Regions from separate parts of the Homo sapiens genome. Here regions 2, 3 and 4 are each linked to region 1. The links are contacts of gene promoters, found by promoter capture Hi-C in blood cells and fetal thymus (Javierre and others, 2016). All regions are on one chromosome and are shown on one strand. Each heading gives the region's core, a stretch centred on a gene start or on the middle of the fragment in contact. The rest is flanking DNA. Distances are from core to core; before and after follow the strand shown.

Region 1 (5,019 bases), core at 1,348-3,847:
CGCAGATAGGGAGACAACCACCACCTAAGCAAACATGCAATTGCGACAGTGGGAGGGAAGCCCACTGGAGTCGGTGGCAAGGGCATAATGGGGAAATTGAAGAACTTTCTGTAGAGAAGTTGATTAAGGAAGGCCTTTCAGAAGATGAAATGCTTAATCTGAGACCTGAAGGATTCTATCATGTATGAACGAATGTTTGTGTCTGCTCCCAGCCACCAAATCATGCGTGGAAATTCCAGGCCGGGTGTTGTGGCTCATACCTGTAATTCTGTTACAGGAAAGGGGTCCAGTCCAGATCCCAAGGGAGAATTCTTGGATCTCGTGCAAGAAAGAATTCAGGGTGAGTCCACTGTGCAAAATGAAAGTAAGTTTATTAAGAAAGTAAAGGAATAAAAGGATGGCTACTCCATAGACAGAACAGCCGAGGGCTGCTGGTTGCCCATTTTTATAGTTATTTTTTGCTTATATGCTAAACGAGGGGTGTATTATTCATGCCTCCCCTTTTTAGACCATGTAGGGTAACTTCCTGATGTTGCCATGGCATTTCTAAACTGTCATGGCACTGGTGGGAGTGTAACAGTGAGGACCAAAGTCACTCTCTTCGCCATTTTGGTTTTGGTGGGTTTTGGCTGGCTCCTTTGCTGCAACCTGTTTCATCAACAAGGTCTTTATGACCTGTATTTTGTGCTGACCTCCCATTTCATCCTGTGACTTAGAATGCCTTAACTGTCTGGGAATGCAGCCCAGTAGGTTTTAGGCTCATCTTACCCAGCTCCTGTTTAAGATGAAGGTGCTCTGGTTCACTTGCCTCTGACGATCCCAGCACTTTGCGAGGCCAAGGCGGGCAGTTCACTTGAGGTCAGGAGTTCGAGACCAGCCTGGCCAAAATGATGAAAACCCGTTTCTACTAAAAATACAAAAACTAGCTGGGCCTGTAATCCCAGCTGCTCTGGAGGCTGAGGCAGAATGGCTTGAACCTGGGAGGGGGAGGTCGCAGTGAGCCAAGATCACACCACTGCACTCCAGCCTGAGCAGCAGAGTGAGACTGTCTCCAAAAAAAAAAAAGGGCGGGGGGTGGAATTCCAAACACCCTCTTCCCCCAAGAAGTGATTGTATTAGGAAGTTAGGAGGTGGGGCCTTCGGGAGGTAATCAAGATTAGATGGTCATGAGGGTGGGGCCCTCACCCATGGAGATTATAAATGTCCTTAGCCGGCCTGTCTCACTTGTTCAGAAACCGGAAAAGTCCGTGGTCTGCAGTGTGGAAAAGGGCACCCGGACCTCTTACTTCCAGCCTCTAGTCTGGAAACTTTGTCTAAGGTACCCCATCTACATTACTTAGTCACAGCCACCCTGAACCCACTAGCCTGTACTGCGCTGGAGCATTTCGCATAAAATGAAATTAACATAAAAATGACACGTGCTCGTTGTGGAAAAAATACCAAAAAGATCACTTTTAATTCTGTCATCTAAAAATAACCACCAGTTACATTTATAAATTTCTTCCAGTAACTTTTTTATATGAACATGTTTTTAAACTTGGGTCAATATTAAAAGACCAGAAGTTGTTAAACATCATTTTAAATCCCCTTATCCAGGAATTAGCATTGTTATTCTTGGCCGCAGCAGAATATTATTTTATTCCCTCAAGCTTTCCATGGCTTGGGTCTGCCCTGGTTTTGAACATTAGGTTAGGCTACAGAAAGCATTCTGGGTCTCTGGCCCATTTGTTTCTTTCTTTGTGGAGACGGGGTCTGGCTCTGTTGCTCAGGCCTGTCTGGAACTCCTGGGCTCAAGCGACACTCCACCTCGGCCTCCCGAGTGGCTGGGACCACTGGCGCCCGCCGCCACCGCGCCGGCTCCGGGCCTCTCTCTACGCGTGGCTCCGCAGGCTCCATTCTCCACACAGTCGTCTAGGGGGGCGCCAGGAGCCCCGCGACGGGCCAGGCCGGAAGCTCAGCAAGTGCACCAGGCGGCGAAACGGCCGGCTGCGCAGGGCAGCCCCGGACACAGCCACGCCGCGGCCGCCCGGCGCTCCCCCGACCCAGCCGACCACGAAGCCGCCCTCCCCCTCACACCGCAGAACCTTTCTGCCTTTTACTACTTTTCAAAGTGGACCTAGGCTCCTGGCTCGAGCCTGAGGGGATACAAGGGATCACGAGGAGCGCCATCACCGTGCAAGGTCGACAGCTTCCGCTCAAAGCCCTGTGGCCCACGCTTCCGGCCTCGACCGACTACGTCATCACCAAACCCCGTGATACCTCACTCCACCTTCAGGTCCTCCGTCCCAACGGTTCCGTGTCCTGGAACTTTCCACGTTCCTGCGCACGCGCTCTGCGGCCCTTAACGTCCCGACTTCGCCCTCCTCTGGCCACGCCCCTGCCCGTTAAGGGCCCTGCCACCCCCGTGACGTACCTATCTTCCCTCGGGCAACCTCGCAACAGATCTCTGATTGGCTGACCCAGGAAGCGGACTTTGCGAGGCGGCGGCGACGATAGGCTGGCAGCCGGCCGACTTCCGCAGAAGGTGATTGGTCGGCGCTGCTGTCCAATCGGCGGCGGGCTGTCGGATTCAAATCCGGATCGTTGGGACTGCGGTCGTTAGTCTCCGGCGAGTTGTTGCCTGGGCTGGACGTGGTTTTGTCTGCTGCGCCCGCTCTTCGCGCTCTCGTTTCATTTTCTGCAGCGCGCCAGCAGGATGGCCCACAAGCAGATCTACTACTCGGACAAGTACTTCGACGAACACTACGAGTACCGGTGGGCGCCTTTCTTAGACCCCGAGCCGGCTCCCTCAGCCGGGGCCCCCGCGGGCGGGGCGACCCAGGCATAGTAGGGTCGGGGGTGGGGGCCGGGGCCTGGGGGGCGGAGCCCGGGGCCGGAGGGCGAGGGCCGGGGTTTGGGGTCGCGGCCACCTGGCGCCCCGCGCAGTCGGACATGGTTGGGTGCCTGGCCGCGCCGGGCCGGTTGGGCCTTTGTTCGGTGTGCGCGGAGGGTGAGGGAAGAGTGCCCACCGGGCCGCATTTAGTACCTGGGTAGGAACCGGCGCAACTTGGGGGTCATGGGGTCCTCGGCGACGCGGAGTGACCATCCCGTCACTTTTTTCTCGGCCGTGGCCGAAGTAATTAGGCCGTTCAGTAGCTGGTCTCAGTTCCAGTTCTTTGAACCAGTCCAGGAAAACCCACCTGGTGCCGTCCTTTTTCCTTTAGCAACCGTGACACACTTTCCCTGTCGCTGACGGGGTGATGCAGCTTTTACTAGTTTGTGGTTTAGAATGGTCAAATGGTCATTTTCATCTGTTAACACAGAGGAACACTTTTCTTTTTCTTGTTTTTGAAGTGAGTGGTATAAGAATAAGCTTTGGAGGCGACCCCCCGAAAAATGAGCTTGATGGGGATTCGAAAATGTTTACTGGGTATGGTGATTTGGGCCATTATAGGTTAGCCGCAGTCATACAATTGAGGGTATTATTAAAGGAGTTTCATTTTAAGGCCGATTAAGAACTTGAGTGGACTTTGGGCATCATTTTCTGCTAGTATACACTGGCCAAATTTTGGGCTTTGAGAAACTTTTGCGTTTGAGTCCTGAAGCACCGTACTAGAACATGGTGGCTGTAATCGATCAGTAAAATTAGACAAATTTTAAATGTCCCTGTCCCCTTCCCCCCAATTAAAGTAGATTGGGGGAAAGCGAGTAGGGACATTTAAAATTTGTTGTCCTTACTGTATGCGGGACACTTCATTTAGGGCGTGGCTTCAGAAAACAGTCAACCCCTTTTTCTTAACTAGGTAGCGACTAGAACGCTGCGTTCTGGGATACTACCAAGATTTAGGGGAGATAAAGCCCATGCCATCGTTGGCCAAATTGTGACCTTGTTTTCTGTCTGCTGCCTTTGTAGGTTAGATTTCTCCGAATGCTATTTAAGGAAGAAAGAACAAAACAGTGGGTGGTTTCTCTTTTTCTCCCCCTCCCTAGTAGCATGGAAGTCTGTTTTCACATGAGGACTACTGAATATTTCTATGGGTAGTAGTAATTGCACCCTTTTGTATTCCTAGCTAGAAAAATAGCATGTTTTTCTGGCTGTAGGTAAATTTCAAGTAGATTGTGTTAACCTTATAGTAATAATAAACTATACTCGTGTAATATGCTGGCAGTGTTCAATTATGCGATGTTAATCAAGAGCCCTATTGAGGATATCCAATAATGAACACAATGTAAACCGTAATAATCTTACTAAAACCTAGAAAATTATTCTGAAACACATCTGGTGCCAAGTGTTTAGGATAAGGATTTAAGGGTCGGTACAAGTTTCTTTTAGGGTATAATATTGAAAATAAATGAAGCTATTTCTCAGACTTCTTTCTGATGGCAGTAGGTCGATTTTTTAGTTTTAATATACTCAAATGATTTGTGTGTGGTAATGTATAGAAGAAAGTTTACATATCTGAAGTGATGTATTTTAATCCAATAAAAATTAGAGCTGGTATTAATTGGCCAAGCCAGTAACCTTTATGAAACAGGATAGTAATTTCCACACATAATTTTAAAGGGGAAACTAGTAATAATATAGCACTAAGGCATGAGTCTAGGGTGGTTTGTATTAATATGTAATGGTGCAGCATGCAATGTAAATTTCAAAGGCTAGTATTTATTTTTCCCAGTGTGCAGTTATCTCTATCTTTCTTTGATTTTTCTTAATTACAAACTTAATTTCCTAGTCCTTTTACGTGAGGGTCTTAATGTTTCTAAGGGCATAACAGTGGGTGCCCCCACCCCCACATCATGGAAGTCTGTTTTCACAAGAGAAAAACTGTTAATTTTTCTGGGCAGCCTTACAAATTAGTAATACTTGCACTATTTTGCATTTCAACTGAAATAAACGTTAGATTTTGGAAATAATTTTCCTTACATGTAGTTAGTTTGAAATCTCTGTGTGGCAAAATACAGGTAGAATCCTCATATGGGGTTGATGCTACTTAAACATTTTTCCTTTATAAAGAAACCCTGATGGAGGAGAGCCTGTTT
Region 2 (5,019 bases), core at 1-2,500, 3.0 Mb after region 1:
CTATTCAGGAAGAATCATGTACCAGCGACCGGGCTATGGCAGCTGCTGAGGAGAAGCAGCCTCCATGCATAAATCACAGGATTGCTATGGCCCATCGAATCCACTGGAGAGCTGTCCATGCACAACAGCATCCAGCAACCACAGGGCAGGGACAGAGCAGGTTAACCTTGCACAACAACCTTGTTGTGCAGAGGGATGCCATCCCCTTTGCTTCCCTCTTATTATAATCCAGGCCCTTGACTCTTCGCTGCTCCACAACTCCTTCAGGTCACCTTAACCTCAACTTCCCGTTCAGCAATTTCGAGACCACCCTCCCTGATATTAACTACATATTATTCACATTACTTCATATTATTTTGCCTCAATATATTTTAGAAACGCACACTAAAACCATGTTTTGTTTAAAATTTCATAATTCCTTCCAGAATTGCTTCCCTTTTAAACTACTGTATTAGTGGTTCCAATATTCTTCCCATTACTTAGGCATGACATTTTTGAGTCACCCCTGACACTACTCAGAAGATACACACAACCAATTAATCATCAAGTCATGTGGATCCTACCTATAAGCCTATTTCTGTTCCCCCTTTTCATTCTCCTCTAAATCCATTTCTGTTTCTCCTTTTATTCTCAGGTCTTCATAATCTATTAAGTCAAATGTAACCTGAAAGTGGGACCGTCTCAAACGTTTCCTCAATTTAGTTATATCCTATTAACATAGACTCCACAGGTATACTCATGCAAATGTACAAAATGTGTATACAATGACATTCACCGAATAATTGTTTCTCCAGGCAAATAACTGAAAACAATCTAAATATTCATGGTGACTGAAGTAAATTACGGTACATCAATAAAATAAGTATCTCGCAGCCATTGAAGGTAATAAATTAAGACATATAAAAATACGTATTGCCTATACATAAAGTCACAGCTATATCAATTTATACTATGTATATCATTTTAAAAAGATTTTACTCATTTCAAACACTACCTCATTCAAAAAGGCGACCATAAATTCCTGAGGCTGGAAACGAACGAACGGCAAGCCCCGAAGAAACACGCTCTTTTAAAAATTAAATCTTGTGCTACTGTTTCGGGGTTGTAACGCGTGCGTGACCCTCGTCTTTGAGGGCCGGATCCTGCAGGGAAGAGAGGGCGTACCTGAGGGGCCTCGCGTGCCTGGACAGCCCCGCGGGCCAGCAAGCCTAAAAGCAACTCATCCGGCGTCCACGCTGCAACCGGGCGCACGGAGGTGATGCAACGCGCTGAAAATGCGGGATCCAGTGAAGGAGACAGGCTCCGCACCGGCCAATCAGTGCGCGCTGCCTGACACCTGCCAACAAGCCAGGCGCCGATTGGTCGCGCCGGACATGATTGCGCCCACTGGCTCGGATGGTGCGACAGTGGTGCTTGCTGGTTTTGCGCCTCCACGTGGAAAACGAACCAGCGCTGAGGGCGGCGCTGTGCGTGCTGCTTGTATCCGTTGCAGTAGTGTAGACCGAGGTCTCACTCGGGTTGTGGGCACCTCCGGGTAGGTGACGGCCCACTGGGAAGGGGCGCCGAGGTCGGGGCTCATGTTCTTCATCTTGTTTGCTTTTGTCAGTATTTATCTGACTGGACACTTCGTACCTAAATTGATAACGACAAACAGCAACTTCCGGAGAGGTGGCTTTAATAATTATACTTTTGGGCCCTGAGCCGCCGACCCCAAAGCCGCTTCTCCTATCATAAATGGCTACGTGAAACGATAATAACAAAAGGGAAGGAAGGGTCTGACAACCAGATTTAAAAGTTTTATTGTATTTTACTTAAAATGTTTCCGGTAATGAAAACATTGCACAAACGATTTTTTTTTCTTTTTTTGAGAAGCGGTCTCATTCTGTCGCCCAGGCTGGAGTGCAGTGGCACGGTCATGGCTCACTGCAGCCTCAACCTCCCCGGATCAGATGATCCTCGCACCTCATCCCTGGCCAAGTAGCTGGGACTACAGGCTAGCGCCACCACGCCCGGCTAATTTTTGTATTTTCTGTAGCAACGGGGTCTTGCTATGTTGCCTAGGCTGCTGTCAAACTCGTGGGCTCAAGCGATCTGCTTGCCTTAGCCTCCTTAACTGTTGGGATTACAGGCATGAGCCACTGCACCCGGCCTGCATACTTATTATCATTGCTATGAGTCGGCTTGGTACCTTACTGATCTGCTGGTTAAAATCTGGAGCCTTGCAAAGGGCAGTAGGCCTCGGGCTTTGGCCCCAGAGCCTCTAAAGGAAATTCTGGATCTTGCCAAATTGGGAGTAGTTCCGTAGCTGCCTATTGTATCCGTTAGAGGGATATAAAAAATTTATCTGGCCTAGAATAGGTAGAATGCAGTTTCTTATTAAGTTTAGGAACATTTTGATAGTCTGTTCAGCATATATTTAACTTTACTTACCGTCTTGGCCCTGTGTGAAGGATTAAAGTGGTTTCATGTCCTCCATCATGGGTAACTCAGTGTTCTGACTATACTCACATAACGTACATAATTTAATAGCTGCAAATCTTGTTAATTAACTGAAAGTATTTGGAATGTGTTTGAAGTTTTCACATTCCTCACGTTGCCACCTTGTTCAGTTCATTTTTGTCACCTATCCAGAGAGCCCAGATAGAGCCAGACAGAGGGCTCCTGGACAAAGGTGAGGTAGGCCAAGTCTAATTATTTAAAAATTTGATTGAGAAACATTTATATTAATAGTACTGTTGTGTTGGAAATAATGCTCAAAATCCTAAGGAAATTGAACATTCAAACAAAGGATTTTCAGCAAAGCAATTTTACTTCTGCGCAGAGGGGTGCTTCTCCTTGGCCAGTCACCATGAGAGCACACCAGAACAAAGGGGCACGAGAACCTTTATCCCTGACACAAACCCTGCCCCTGTACCCTTTCTCCATTGGCCGGAGTTGGGCCTCACAATCTAAAATAACCACAGTTGGCTAAACATTTTAACTTTCTTTAGATAAGGTGGGCACGTAAGAGAGAGGGGAAAGGGGGAAGGGCTGTCTGTAATGAGCTAGAGAGCTAGTCTTCTCTTCGGATAAGGAATACGAGCTGGTACTGATAACGCCTGGTACTGTGGCCTGTCTAGGCATGTAACAAAGGCAGAAAGGAAAGAGGAGAAAAAGGGAAGAGGGGGGCACTGTGAATTAAAGAATAAAGGATTGATCAGGCTATTTGAAGAGAAACCTCATCATGTCCCACAGTTGGAAGGTATGGGAAGACTAAGTCTAGAAAAAGTTAAGCAAATGAAAAAATTCCAGCAAAAAAGTTAACTGTAGTCAAAATATATTACTTGGACTGAAGAGGTGAATAATTTTTTCACCTTTTCAGAATATGTAGTGTCTGGAAGTGAAAAACCAAGAAATCAGAGCATAAGCATGTTAGGTAGAAACATGGAGGTAAATACTAGAGAAATTAAATTGCTGAAGGTGGTTTCATCTGGGGAGCAGGAACTGGGGGGTGGGCAAGGCTACTTGATGTTACTTATTTGTCTGCTTGTGAAACATGTGCCGGATTTAAATTACGGCCACACATTCTGACACTCCTCCCACTAAGAAGTGAGGATCTGTGTCCCCTCCCTTTCAGTCTGGTTGGGCTGTGTGTCAGTTTAAACCTGTAGAATACAGTGAAGTGACTGAGCCGGTTTCTGGGCCAGGCCTTAAGAGACAGGCAGCATCTGCTTCCTGCCTCTGAGAACACTTGCTCCTAGAGCTTTTTTGCTATGCTGTAAGGAAGCCCATGAACAGGCACTGAGTGGGCCATCTTAGAAACAGATCCCGTAGCCCTAGCTGAACCACCCCAGTGAAAGCACACAGCACAGATCAGCAGTCCCTAGTGAGTGTTGACCAAATTGCAGTATTTGTGCATAAAATAAATGATTGTTACTGAGATGATTTGCTATGCAGCAATAGAAAATAAGGTACAAATGTGATCTACATCAAGAGAAGGTAGAAAGTGTGAATTATTTATCCTGCTGCTTAGTTGTCCACACTCTCCTTGAAGTCTGAAGTTTTGGAAACCTAGGAATCCAGAATTACTCTTCAAGTTATTTAGTTCCTTGGACCCTTACTAAAAAAACATAGAGCATAAGCCCTAGGGTCATAATGGTTAACACACCAGATGAAATCCCAACAGTTAAGAGTTTATATTCAGCATAGGTAAATCAATAAATACTAATTTTAGGTACACACATCATGGCTTAATGATAGTCCCTTGGAACTATATAATACTATTTCTTTTTTTTTTTTTTTTTAAGATGGAGTCTCACTCTGTTACCCAGGCTGGAGTGCAGCAACATGATCTCAGCACTGCAACCTCTGCCTCCTGGGTTCAAGTGATTCTCCTGTATCAGCCTCCCTAGCAGCTGGGATTACAGGTGTGAGCCACCACACCCAGCTAATTTTTGCATTTTTAGTAGAGATGGGGTTTCACCATGTTGGCCAGGCTGGTCTTGAAATCCTGACCTCCTCATGATCCGCCCGCCTTGGCCTCCCAAAGTACTGAGATTACAGGTGTGCGCCATCACGCCCGGCCTATGTAATACTATTTCATACAGAGCCCATTTTGATAGGAGACGTATGTCTTGAAATCTAGGCAGGTTGGTTTATTTAATGTAATGTTAAATCTGTTTCCCTATTTGGGCTCAGGGTCCTGACTCCTAATTGTGACTACCTATCTTTCAGGCACTTGGTATTTTTCATAAGCTTTTAGTCTAACTAGAATTTTGGGATTGGTGTACATCTAGATGTTGTTCCTTAATTCCTAGAGGCAATGACAAGATAACTGTATTTGGCTTCCTCTCCTGGTCCTCACAGAACTCTTATATGATGTTGGTCTGAAATGTCCTATATTTCAGTTAACCATTCACCAAAACACAAGTATAAAACTCAATGTTGACTTGTAATTTATCAGTTTAAACAAAAATGACAAAATGGAAGGTGTATTTGACATAATCAGAAATAAAATTTCAAATAGCCTATAATTCACAC
Region 3 (5,019 bases), core at 964-3,463, 3.0 Mb before region 1:
GATTCATCTCTGTAACAATAAAAGAGTGTTTTCCCAAGAGTTGGAGGAATGTACCTAATGAAGAATCATTACAGCCTATAAACCACCCATTTACAGTAGTGACAGTAATGCTTTCACACAGAGGCAGAGAGAGATAAACCAGAGAGGTCACACTGTTACTCAGCACTGCCATAAATGCTGCCAAAAAGGGTGGCAAAATACAGGTGATTACAGCAAGTAACTATTTAATAAGGCTGTTTTTTAACGAGTTGAAATGGACCGAAATACTTCCTTGCTATATTTTTTCTTTTAAGTCATTTTATTATTTTTAAAATGAGATTTTCCCCTTTTACATCAAATGCCAAAAGTATAGGGAGAATGTTAGTAGGAACCATGTGTGATAACCAAATAAAAAGCTTATAATTCTAGAAATTGGACATTAAGATGTAGTAAAGTACTTGTGCTTTTGGCAAGTTGAGAGTTAGTAAATAAACAGTTTAAAGAAATGAGACCTTTGCTTTTCTCTGCACACCACCACTGGCACCCTAGCATGGAAGTCTGCATCAACATCAATAAAGGAGTCTGAGGAAAGAAGAAGAAAAATATTAAGTTGGTTAATTAAAGCTTTGTTTAAAAGCAGAACCAGATAAAGTACAAGTACCAGTTGTCCCTTAGCTGTTGAGTCTTTTGAAAGACCACTACTAAATAATGCTCTGCAATGACTTGAAAAGGAAAAAATATTACATTCAAAAACCAAGTTATCACATTAGTGTAAAACCCTTAGTTTGTAAAGTGAATGTTTCATTATAAGTGACTACATCATTGGATCAGAAAATTCAAATGTTATATGGATAACAATTAGAAATATAGGTAATACATTTAAAAACAAAGTTGCTGTAAAAGCTACTAAAATATTCAGTGTCAAAATATGTATTGATCGAAGACAAAATTTAACCAAAACAAGGAGGATGGGGATGACTAATTCAAGAGATGACACAGTTTCATAAGGACTATGTAAAACACAAAGAGCCATAAAGCCCCAAGCTGGACATTGTATTAGACAACTGATAAACCTAAATGGGCACCACTCTGTGGATTCATTAATTAGGGTTGGGTTACACCTATTCACTGTTGGTAAAATACTGATTTTAACCATTGATAAAAGCAGATTATCCTTCAGTTTTACCCTCAAGAGTACATTTTACATATTTTGCATTTCTTAGTCACATCTAGGACTCATTTAATCTTTATAAATAGTGATGATGTCATCAAGCTAAAAGCTTTACTTATGAAATGGTTATTCTGCATAGTAGAACTACTAACAGGACTCTAGTTAATAATTCATGGGCATTTGCTTTGGATATTACCCACATAAATAATTTTAAAAGCATGCCTTGCTATTTTCAAAGTTTGAGAAATAAGATAGATCCAAATTATAGACAACATAAAAATTTTTTAAATGTGGAATTTGGCCTTACCACTGTTCTTTAAACATTCTTGAACAAGTAAGAGGACATCTGGCTGAGACATCTAGGAAATAAATCAATGAATACATGAAATTATTCCTAAGTGATTTTGCTTCACTGATATAAGAGTCATCCGAAGTTCCCCAAATTCCTTTCTAAATGAGAAATGCACATTGCTATCAAAGTAAAGAAATTACTCACTATGTTGTTTGCATATGTCAGTCAAAGACAGACAGATCAACACCAAATGAAGACAAATGTGGGCAAGAGACCTACTATACAACTAACTTCTGATTTAACTAATTATTGAGGTTAACCTGCCTCTCAGCAAGTCTCAAAGTGGTAGCTGGAAGTTTGTCAAACTGCTAACAATATTACCTTTCACTCTAATACCATTGCAACAGATAGCTTACTGGTCCCGGAGTCAGTCTTGCACTTCTTTTTAAAATCCTTGTTTCGCAATGGAGCCAGGGCCATTTAAAATCATAAACTGTATCCTTACAACTCTCAATGACTTCTTACTGCCCTTAGGTCAAAACCAAATTCTTTATTTACCATGGTCTACACAATTCGGCCAGTCAAGCCCAGCCTACCTAGCCATCCTAATCTCCTGCTCTTCTTTTTCTTGGTCCCTTCACCATACTTACACAACCTTTCTTTTAGCTCCTTGAATATGCCAAACTCTTTATTGATTTAGGGTATTTGCAAATGCTGCTCCCCCTGCCTGAAACTCTTTTCCCTCCCGTTTCCCCCTCTCCTGCAGGCTCCTTTTCGTCTTTTAGAACTCAGCTTAAATGTTCCCTCTTCAAAGAAGCCTTCATGACTGCTGTATCTCTGCCCAGACCTTGTCATTTTCTATCCCTGAACCTTTACCTGCACAGCTCTCACTATAATTACAAGGTAATTACTAATCTCCTTTACTAGATGAGTTCCATAAAGAGGAACCATCTCTGTTTTGTCCTTTATAACCTAGTATGTCTGCCATACAAATGGGATGAGTGAATATTTGCTAAATGAATTAATGACACCGGATCAAAATAACTGCTATGGCTGGTAAATCACTGATCAGAATTTAAGGTTAAAAAAACAGTCTATTGGGTAGCTTACCAGGTAGCTACAGCACTCAGGTTTAGCAAGAAGTAAGAGGTTGTAAAATAGAACCTCTGGGGCCCCAGAATCTGGATTTTTTTTGAGAGAGGTGGGGCTGGCCAGGCTGTTCATGAACTCCTGGGCTCAAGTAACCCTCCAACCTCAGTCTCCCGAGTAGCTGGGATTAGAGGGTGAAGCCACTGCACCCAGCTCAGAATATGGATTTTTAACAAGCAACCCAAGTAACTGCAAACACATCATCTATAAACAGGCCTGTGGGAACTAACAGCAGAGAAATGGATAATCTACTAAAGTGCCTTTCAGTTTTTTGTTTTTTTAAGAGATAGGGTCTCACTATGTTGCCCAGGCTGGAATGCAGTGGCAATTCTCAAGTGCAGTCACAGCTAACTACAGCTTTGAACTTCTGGGCTCGTGATCCTCCCGCCTCAACCTCCAGAGTAGCTGGGACTACAGAACTGTGCCGTGTCCAGCTACACTCCAGTTTTAAAATTCTAACTCATCAACATACTTTTAAATCATGTTTAAACCAGAAATCCAGGCTAGGTGTGATTCTTTAAAAGCCTAATTATTTTAACAAAATAGGTATACAAAAAGAGGAAACTCCAGAGACAATTAAGCTTGCAGATCATAAATGTTTAAATATCTACACTTTAAAATCTGAATTCCCTTTCTGCCACTGGAAAGTTGATTTTATCAAGAAAATTTACTCTTTTTAAGTAACAGAACCTAAACACCCCCATCAGGTGCACATGGTTGAAAAACCAGTGTTGGATGTATAAAAGATCTATAGACTAAAATAAGTATGAAAATTTGCAGAGTATTAAAAAAAAAAGCTCTGAAACTGAAGGCAAGCGGATGCTGTCATTACACTTAAAATATCTTCAAATATCTAAAATATATTCATAGACAGTTTACATTTGTAAGAAAGAATTTCCATACCACTCTGAAAGTGCCAGCATTTCATTTTGTACTTACAATGGCTGGAAACTGGATGTCAATGTTTACATCCGAATTTTTGAAACCCAATCTGCTACAGGATGACCCATATAATCTTAGGGAACAATCTAAAAAATAAATAAATAAATAAAAGTAATAAATACAGTAGAATTTCTCAAAAGTTATAACAAAACACTGCTATTTCAGAAGCAGAACCATCAATTAAAATTACACACAAAAGCAAACTTGTATTCAAGACTAGCATAAACAAAGGACAGAAATAGGTGGCTCTTTGCTCTTCACTTAATTTAATAGGGAAGGCTGCATCAACTATGATTTAGCTTAACAGCCACGCTTCATGTCAGTTGTAAAACGTCAAATTGCTACGTTATCATGTATTTTATGAATAAAATACTATTATCTAAATATCACATTTTATGAAGAAAATACTATTTAAAATATTTTTTTAAATGTGCCAGTTGAAAAAGAATGTCTTTGTTTAAATTTATAAACCTGATAGTATATTCAAGAGCTAATGCAAACGTTTCTTTTCACCTTTTAGAATGCACCCATTGGTGTAATTTACTATAAGGAGGTTTTAGTAAAACAATAATAAAAATAATCTTTTGACATATTTAATATGAATTTCTCATTATATTATGAACAAAAAGCGTTTGCTGTAACAAAATCCCAATAAACTTTTGAAAAATAATTACAATATCACTGACATAGGTAGCAGACACTTCACTCTTCAGAGGAAGATGTGTGTGTATATGAGTACTATCTATAGTATAGCATTTATTTTCAGTGTTTTACTATGATGCCAAAATAGTATCCTTTCTCATCAGGGGTTGGTTTTCTTGTTTGTTTAAGGTTTGCTAAAATTCAAGTGATTTCTTTGGGTTTTAGCAGTTTTCCACAACAAAGTACATTCATTTTTACATGAAATTTTACAGTAAAAATCATCAGAATTACAACTGACTTTTCAGGAAATACATGTATAATAAAATGAGATTATTTTCCCTTATTCTTATGAAAGTATATGCGTTACAAATACTATATGTATGATCTTTCAGTAGAACAAACAGTTTTAAGATTTATAAGGTGACAAATATAAATAATGATTCCAACCCTAGCTGTGGATCAGAATCACTTGTCGAGCTTTGTAAAAATAGTTGTCCATGGCTTCACAGATAATTCTGATGCACAGCAAGAATTGAGAATGATGAAGCTATTCCAACCATTTACCTAAACAGCAATGGCCAGTGGGGGTTGGGGGATGATGTGGGGTGGGGTTTGTTGCCATCAAGGATTGACAGCAGTTGTGTCAGGCATTGAACATACCTGACCTTAAATTTTCATAGTAATACACTCCAAATAGTTGTGCCCCCTCCCCATCATGCCAAAGGTCTAAAGTTAAAAACAGGCAGAAGACAGACATAACTTGGAAAATCAATTCAACAGTGCACAAAATCCAATACAAATTTCTTAAAACTAGTTTTCAAAGTTCATTTTAGATGCTGCAATT
Region 4 (5,019 bases), core at 1,470-3,969, 2.1 Mb after region 1:
TCCATCTGCCTCAGCCTCCCAAAGTGCTGAGATTACAGTCATGAGCCACCATGCCCCACTGAATTATCTTCAATTCCTTCACCTATAAAATGAGAATAATTATGCCCATTTATTGGGTTGATAAGTATGTAAAACACTTGGCACCAAGAAAGAAATAGAGCAGCGTGGAAATATTAGCTACCATTTACCAACTTCCTTCTTAGTCTATTTAAGAAGGCATTTCGCTGTCTTATTTAATGTTCAGGAAACTTTCAAGTTGGTATTACTACCCCCATTTTTATAGATGAGGAAACTGAGATTAAGTTACTTACCAAAGACTGCATCTGGGAAGCCATGGAGCTGGAATTCAAATACTGATACATCTGACTCCAAAGCTCATGTTCTTTTTCTTTTTTAAAAATCTTTTAATTTTTTTTTTTTTTTACTAGAAACAAGGGTGTCACTATGTTACCCAAGCTGGTTTTGAACTTAGGCTCAAGCCGTCCTTCTGCCTCAGCCTCCCAAAGCGCTGGATTATATGTGTGAGCCAGTGGGCCCAGCCAAAGCCCATATTCTTAATCACTAGTTAGAACAGCCTTTCAATAAATGTTAAGGTACTCAATAAAATGTCATGACCTCTGGAATTTCTACTTTTCAATGAAAGATTGTCAAGTATGAAACAGGAATAATGAGTATCAGTTTGGGAAAAGGCGGGTAGGGCTTGTTGTTTGAAATGAGAAGAGTATAGCCAGGTGTGGTGGTGTGCATTGGGAGGTTGAAGCAGGAGGATTGCTTGAGCCCAGGAGTTCAAGGTCAATCTGGGCAACATAGCAAGACTCTGCCACTGAAAAAAATAATAATTAAAAAAAAAAGGAAGAAATGGCAAGAGTGAAAGAGTGGAAAAGCTGGAGTATTCAGAGTACTACACCCACTAATCTCCTGACCTGCTTCTACTTCTTCTACATCCAGCAGAACTGTGAGGCAAACAAACCTCCTTTCTTTAGAAACTACCCAGCCTCAGGTATTCTTTTATAGCAATGCAAAATGGACTAAGGCAAGGACCAAATATCTTTTTCTTAGTATATCACGATATCATAAGCCCCATGGTGGCCTTTCACTCCAGAAGGTCTTTTCCCATCTAGTCTGAGTACTTACCTCCAAAAGGAGGGATTGGATGTCAAATCCAGAAAATCCAATCTCTAGAGCCTTGAAGGGATCCAGTAAGCCTTACCCAAGGACACTACCCCCAGAGAAAAGGTATGTTTGAAGACACCCTCTCTCACTCTGCCCTGCAGAGACTCCTTGACCAGACACTGCAATCCACCCCCACCAAGGTATTGTAGGTCTCATTTTAGGTAGCAACCATGTGTGCCTATGAGCTCCATGACCTCTGGAGAAGAGTAGACATTATACAGACAAGTAAAGAGAGGCATAAATTACTGAAAGTTACATAGCTAATAAATAACAAAGCTGGAACTGGAACTCAAACACTCCACTCCAAAAACCTGAGTTCTTAATCATGACTTTCTTTTGTTTGCTTTTCCTAATTGATTGTAAGGGCTTCATCTTCTCCACCACTACTCTGACCCCAATCAGTAGGGAGTTTTATCAAGCCCTTCTATTATCATTTCATTTGGAAATTTCACCCACTGCGTTGGATCCTGCATGGTCACGATTTCCCAGATACTGCTTCTTCCCCCTGACAATTCCATAGTTGCTGATTGTGTATACGTGCATACATGCAAATATGCAAACACATGTGCCATGTCCTGAAAATACAAACCTTCGTCATCTCAGGATGAGAGGGATGGGGAGACTAGGGGATGAGATCAAAAAGGTACATGGCATCTTTTGGGGATGATAAGGATGTCCTAAGTTTATTGTATGATGGTTGCACAAACTCTGAGAATATACCAAAAACCATTTAATTGTATATGTTAAATCGGGGGATTGCTTGGCATGTGAATAATACTTCAATAAAGCTGCTGCAAAAGTCAGGAGACAGGATTTGGGATCCTTGAAGAGATGACTGATTGAGTGTCTGAGACAGAGAAAAACTAGGTGAGATCAGAATATCTCCTTGTGCCAGAAAACACTGAAGTGCTCCACAATTGACAGAAATGTGAAAGACCACAGCTCGGAAGGGTTTCTACTGGCCTTGCCTGGGACAATTAGAATGTTGAAGAGAACCATGCTAGTAATTGATAGAAACATTTAGCATTTTTTAAAGATATCAGTGAACAATTAAGTAAATGGATGGCAGATGGTAGAAGCCAGTTTCTCCCTGTTGGTATGGGAGACTACAGATAAGCAAGGGAAGGAGGCCAGGATGATTTGTTTGATAAGGGTTTAGCACTGGAAACATCAGTATGAACTCATGTTTAGCTTAATATAGATATAGATGGATACACATAGAAACATCTACAGATAAGTACATATGCACACATGAGTATACACACACTCCTGCTCTGTCAGCTAAGATGAACTAGAAGCAATAACACACCATCGACAATGAGCACACCTAGTGTCAGATCTTGGTTTCTAATACCATCCTCCAGTAAAAAAGAATTCCCCATTGATCCTTGGAGAAATGGGTGATTCTAGGACTGGGGCAGGAAATATACAAGATGAGCCTGAAGGATGTTGTGGTGCCAGAAAATAAGAAAGTGTTCAAAATAACCCCAAAATGATGGGCAGATGTCAAAGAGATGCAGGAACCAACTGAGAGAGTTCCCAGTGGCCACAGCTGGAACAAGATGAACAATAGAATAAAGTGGCATAGCATGATATCCGAAAGCATAAAATAAATATCCATGTATACATACTGATACAGATAAATGATTGAATAGTTAAATGAGAAGAGACCAAACTCCCAAGCAGAAGAATTTCCAATAATTCATGTAGATACTCTGCCCTACCTGAGGAAGGTGTCAAAGATAAAGCCAACAGTAGTTAAAGTAGTAAAGACAGATATTAATCAGTGATATACTATTGTAATAACATAATATGATATTCTTGTCTGCTTTCAGCAGGTCTAGGATAGAAATTGTTCATAAAATTTTAAGTCTAAGATCAGGAGGCCCACCCTATTGCTTTTAACCCTCTTAGTTGTAAGATAGGTGGTATCTCCCTCATACCCCTCCAAATAGGTAAAAGGAATACCTGCTCTATCAGGGTATAACTAGACATCTATGGTCTTAGCCCCCTCTTGTTTATAGTCTTTGGGTTCATTGTGCCTTGTCGCTTAAGCGCTTGTCTAGTGGATGAGAATGTTATTCTCTCCTCTAAATCAACCAACCTTCTATGGAGTAAAGGGTACTGAAGAGGATATGTCAGTCAGTTCGGGCTGCCATAACAAATACCACACACTGGGCAGTTTAAACAATAGACATTTATTTCCTCAAAGTTCTGGAAGCTGTAAGTTCGAGATCAAGGTGTCAGCAGGACTGGTTCCTTCTGAGGTCTCTCTCTTTGGCTCGCAGATGGTGTCTCCTTCCTGTGTTCTTACACGGCCTTTCCTCTGTGCGTGCACATCCCTGGTATGTCTTCTCCTTATAAGACCATCTTTCCAACTCTCTTTTCAGTAAATGGTGCTGGGGAAACTGTCTAACCATATGTAGAAGAATGAAACTGGACCCCTATCTATCACCATATACAAGGGAAATAACTCAAGATGAAATAAAGACTTAAATTTAAGACCTCAAACTGTAACAATCAGAGAAGAAAACCTAGGAAATACTCTTGTGAACATCCATCTAGACAAAGAATTTACGGCTTAGTCCTCAAAAGCAATTGCAAGAAAAGCAAAAATTGATAAGTGGGACCTTATTAAATTACAGAGCTTCTGCACAGCAAAAGAAACCATTAACAGAGTATACAGACACCCTACAGAACAGGAGAAATATTTACAAACTATGCATCCAGCACACCCTAATATCCAGAATCTATAAAGACCTTAAACAAATCAACAAGAATGAAACAAATAACCTCATTTAAAAATGGGCAAAGCTGCCAGGCATGGTGGCTCACACTTATAATTCCAGCACTTTGGGAGGCCGAGGCAGGCAGACCACTTGGGCTCAGGAGTTGGAGACCAGCCTGGACAACATGGCAAAACTCCATCTCTACTAAAAATATAAAAATTAGCCAGGCGTGGTGACACACATCTGTAGTCCCAGCTACTGGGGTGGGGAGCTGAAGTAGGAGGATTGTTTGAGCCTGGGAGTCAGAGGTTGCAGTGAGCTGAGATCGGGCCACTGCATTCCAGCCTGACTGAGAGTGAGATCCTGTCTCAAAAAATAAAAATAAAAAATAAACAATGGGCAAAGGACATTAACAGACACTTCTCAAAAGAAGACATACAGTCAGCTAACATGAAAAAATGCTCAATATCACTAATTATCAAATAAATGCAAATAAAAACCACAATGACAGTGGTCCCCAACTTTTTTGGATCAGTGACCGGTTTCATGGAAGACAATTTTTCCATGGACTGGGCCAGGGGTGGGGGCGGGAGGGAATGGGGATGAAACTGTTCCACCTCTGATCATTGGGCATTAGGGTTTTATACATAAGGAACACTCAACCTAGATCCCTTGTATGCACAGTTCACAATAGAGTTTGGCTCCTCTGAGAATCTCATGCCCCCCCTGATGTGACAGGAGGCGGGGGCTTGGGTGGTAATGCTCACTGGCCCACCTCTCACCTCCTGCTGTATGGCCCGGTTCCTAACAGGCCGTGGACCAGTACCAGTCCATGGCCTGGGAGGTGGGGACCCCTGCACAATGAGATACCATCTCATACCAGTCAGAATGGCTATTATTAAAAAGTCAAAAAATAACAGATGTTGGCAAGGCTGCAGACAAAAGGGAATGCTTATACATTGCTGGTGAGAATGTAAATTAGTTCAGCCATGGTGGAAAGCAGTTTGGAGATTTCGTTGTTTTTGTTTTGTTTTGTTTTTTCGCTCTGTCGCCCAGGCTGGAGTGGTGCAGTGGCGTGATCTAGGCTCACTGCAAGCTCCGCCTCCTGGGTTCACGC

What was found. The method cuts DNA at HindIII sites, captures the fragments that hold promoters and counts their contacts. A CHiCAGO score of 5 or more calls a contact.
Region 2: the fragment with the promoter of IARS1 here is called in contact with the fragment with the promoter of CKS2 in region 1 in 1 of 17 cell types (total B cells); the score reaches 5.3 in total B cells.
Region 3: a contact is called between a fragment that was not itself captured here and the fragment with the promoter of CKS2 in region 1, in 1 of 17 cell types (total CD8 T cells). The highest score is 5.1, in total CD8 T cells.
Region 4: a contact is called between a fragment that was not itself captured here and the fragment with the promoter of CKS2 in region 1, in 1 of 17 cell types (neutrophils). The highest score is 5.4, in neutrophils.

What each region holds. Positions count from the first base shown.
Region 1 is chr9:89,308,598-89,313,616 of GRCh38, forward strand. It overlaps CKS2 (CDC28 protein kinase regulatory subunit 2), which reads left to right and starts at 2,598. Exons shown (of 3, transcript NM_001827.3): 1 at 2,598-2,754. The coding sequence starts at 2,696. MIR3153 (microRNA 3153) reads left to right here and starts at 3,628; the gene lies at 3,628-3,709. LOC105376136 (a long non-coding RNA gene) reads right to left here and starts at 2,205. Exons shown (of 3, transcript XR_930101.4): 1 at 769-2,205; 2 at 261-349. RefSeq lists a silencer at 1,904-2,133 and enhancers at 2,144-2,433, 3,104-3,153. The HindIII fragment of the contact is 1,703 bases long and covers 1,648-3,350 here.
Region 2 is chr9:92,292,447-92,297,465 of GRCh38, forward strand. IARS1 (isoleucyl-tRNA synthetase 1) reads right to left here and starts at 1,251. Exons shown (of 34, transcript NM_002161.6): 1 at 1,165-1,251. It overlaps MIR3651 (microRNA 3651), which reads right to left and starts at 101; the gene lies at 12-101. SNORA84 (small nucleolar RNA, H/ACA box 84) reads right to left here and starts at 147; the gene lies at 15-147. It overlaps NOL8 (nucleolar protein 8), which reads right to left. Exons shown (of 17, transcript NM_017948.6): 17 at 4,912-5,019. RefSeq lists an enhancer at 1,633-1,682. The HindIII fragment of the contact is 5,187 bases long and covers 1-4,732 here.
Region 3 is chr9:86,339,545-86,344,563 of GRCh38, forward strand. TUT7 (terminal uridylyl transferase 7) reads right to left here. Exons shown (of 27, transcript NM_024617.4): 6 at 3,531-3,619; 7 at 1,458-1,509; 8 at 492-561. Among named protein-coding and RNA genes, the nearest start is that of TUT7, 12 kb to the right of the region's middle. The HindIII fragment of the contact is 1,913 bases long and covers 1,258-3,170 here.
Region 4 is chr9:91,366,063-91,371,081 of GRCh38, forward strand. No RefSeq gene overlaps it. Among named protein-coding and RNA genes, the nearest start is that of AUH, 6.7 kb to the left of the region's middle. The HindIII fragment of the contact is 7,448 bases long and covers 1-5,019 here.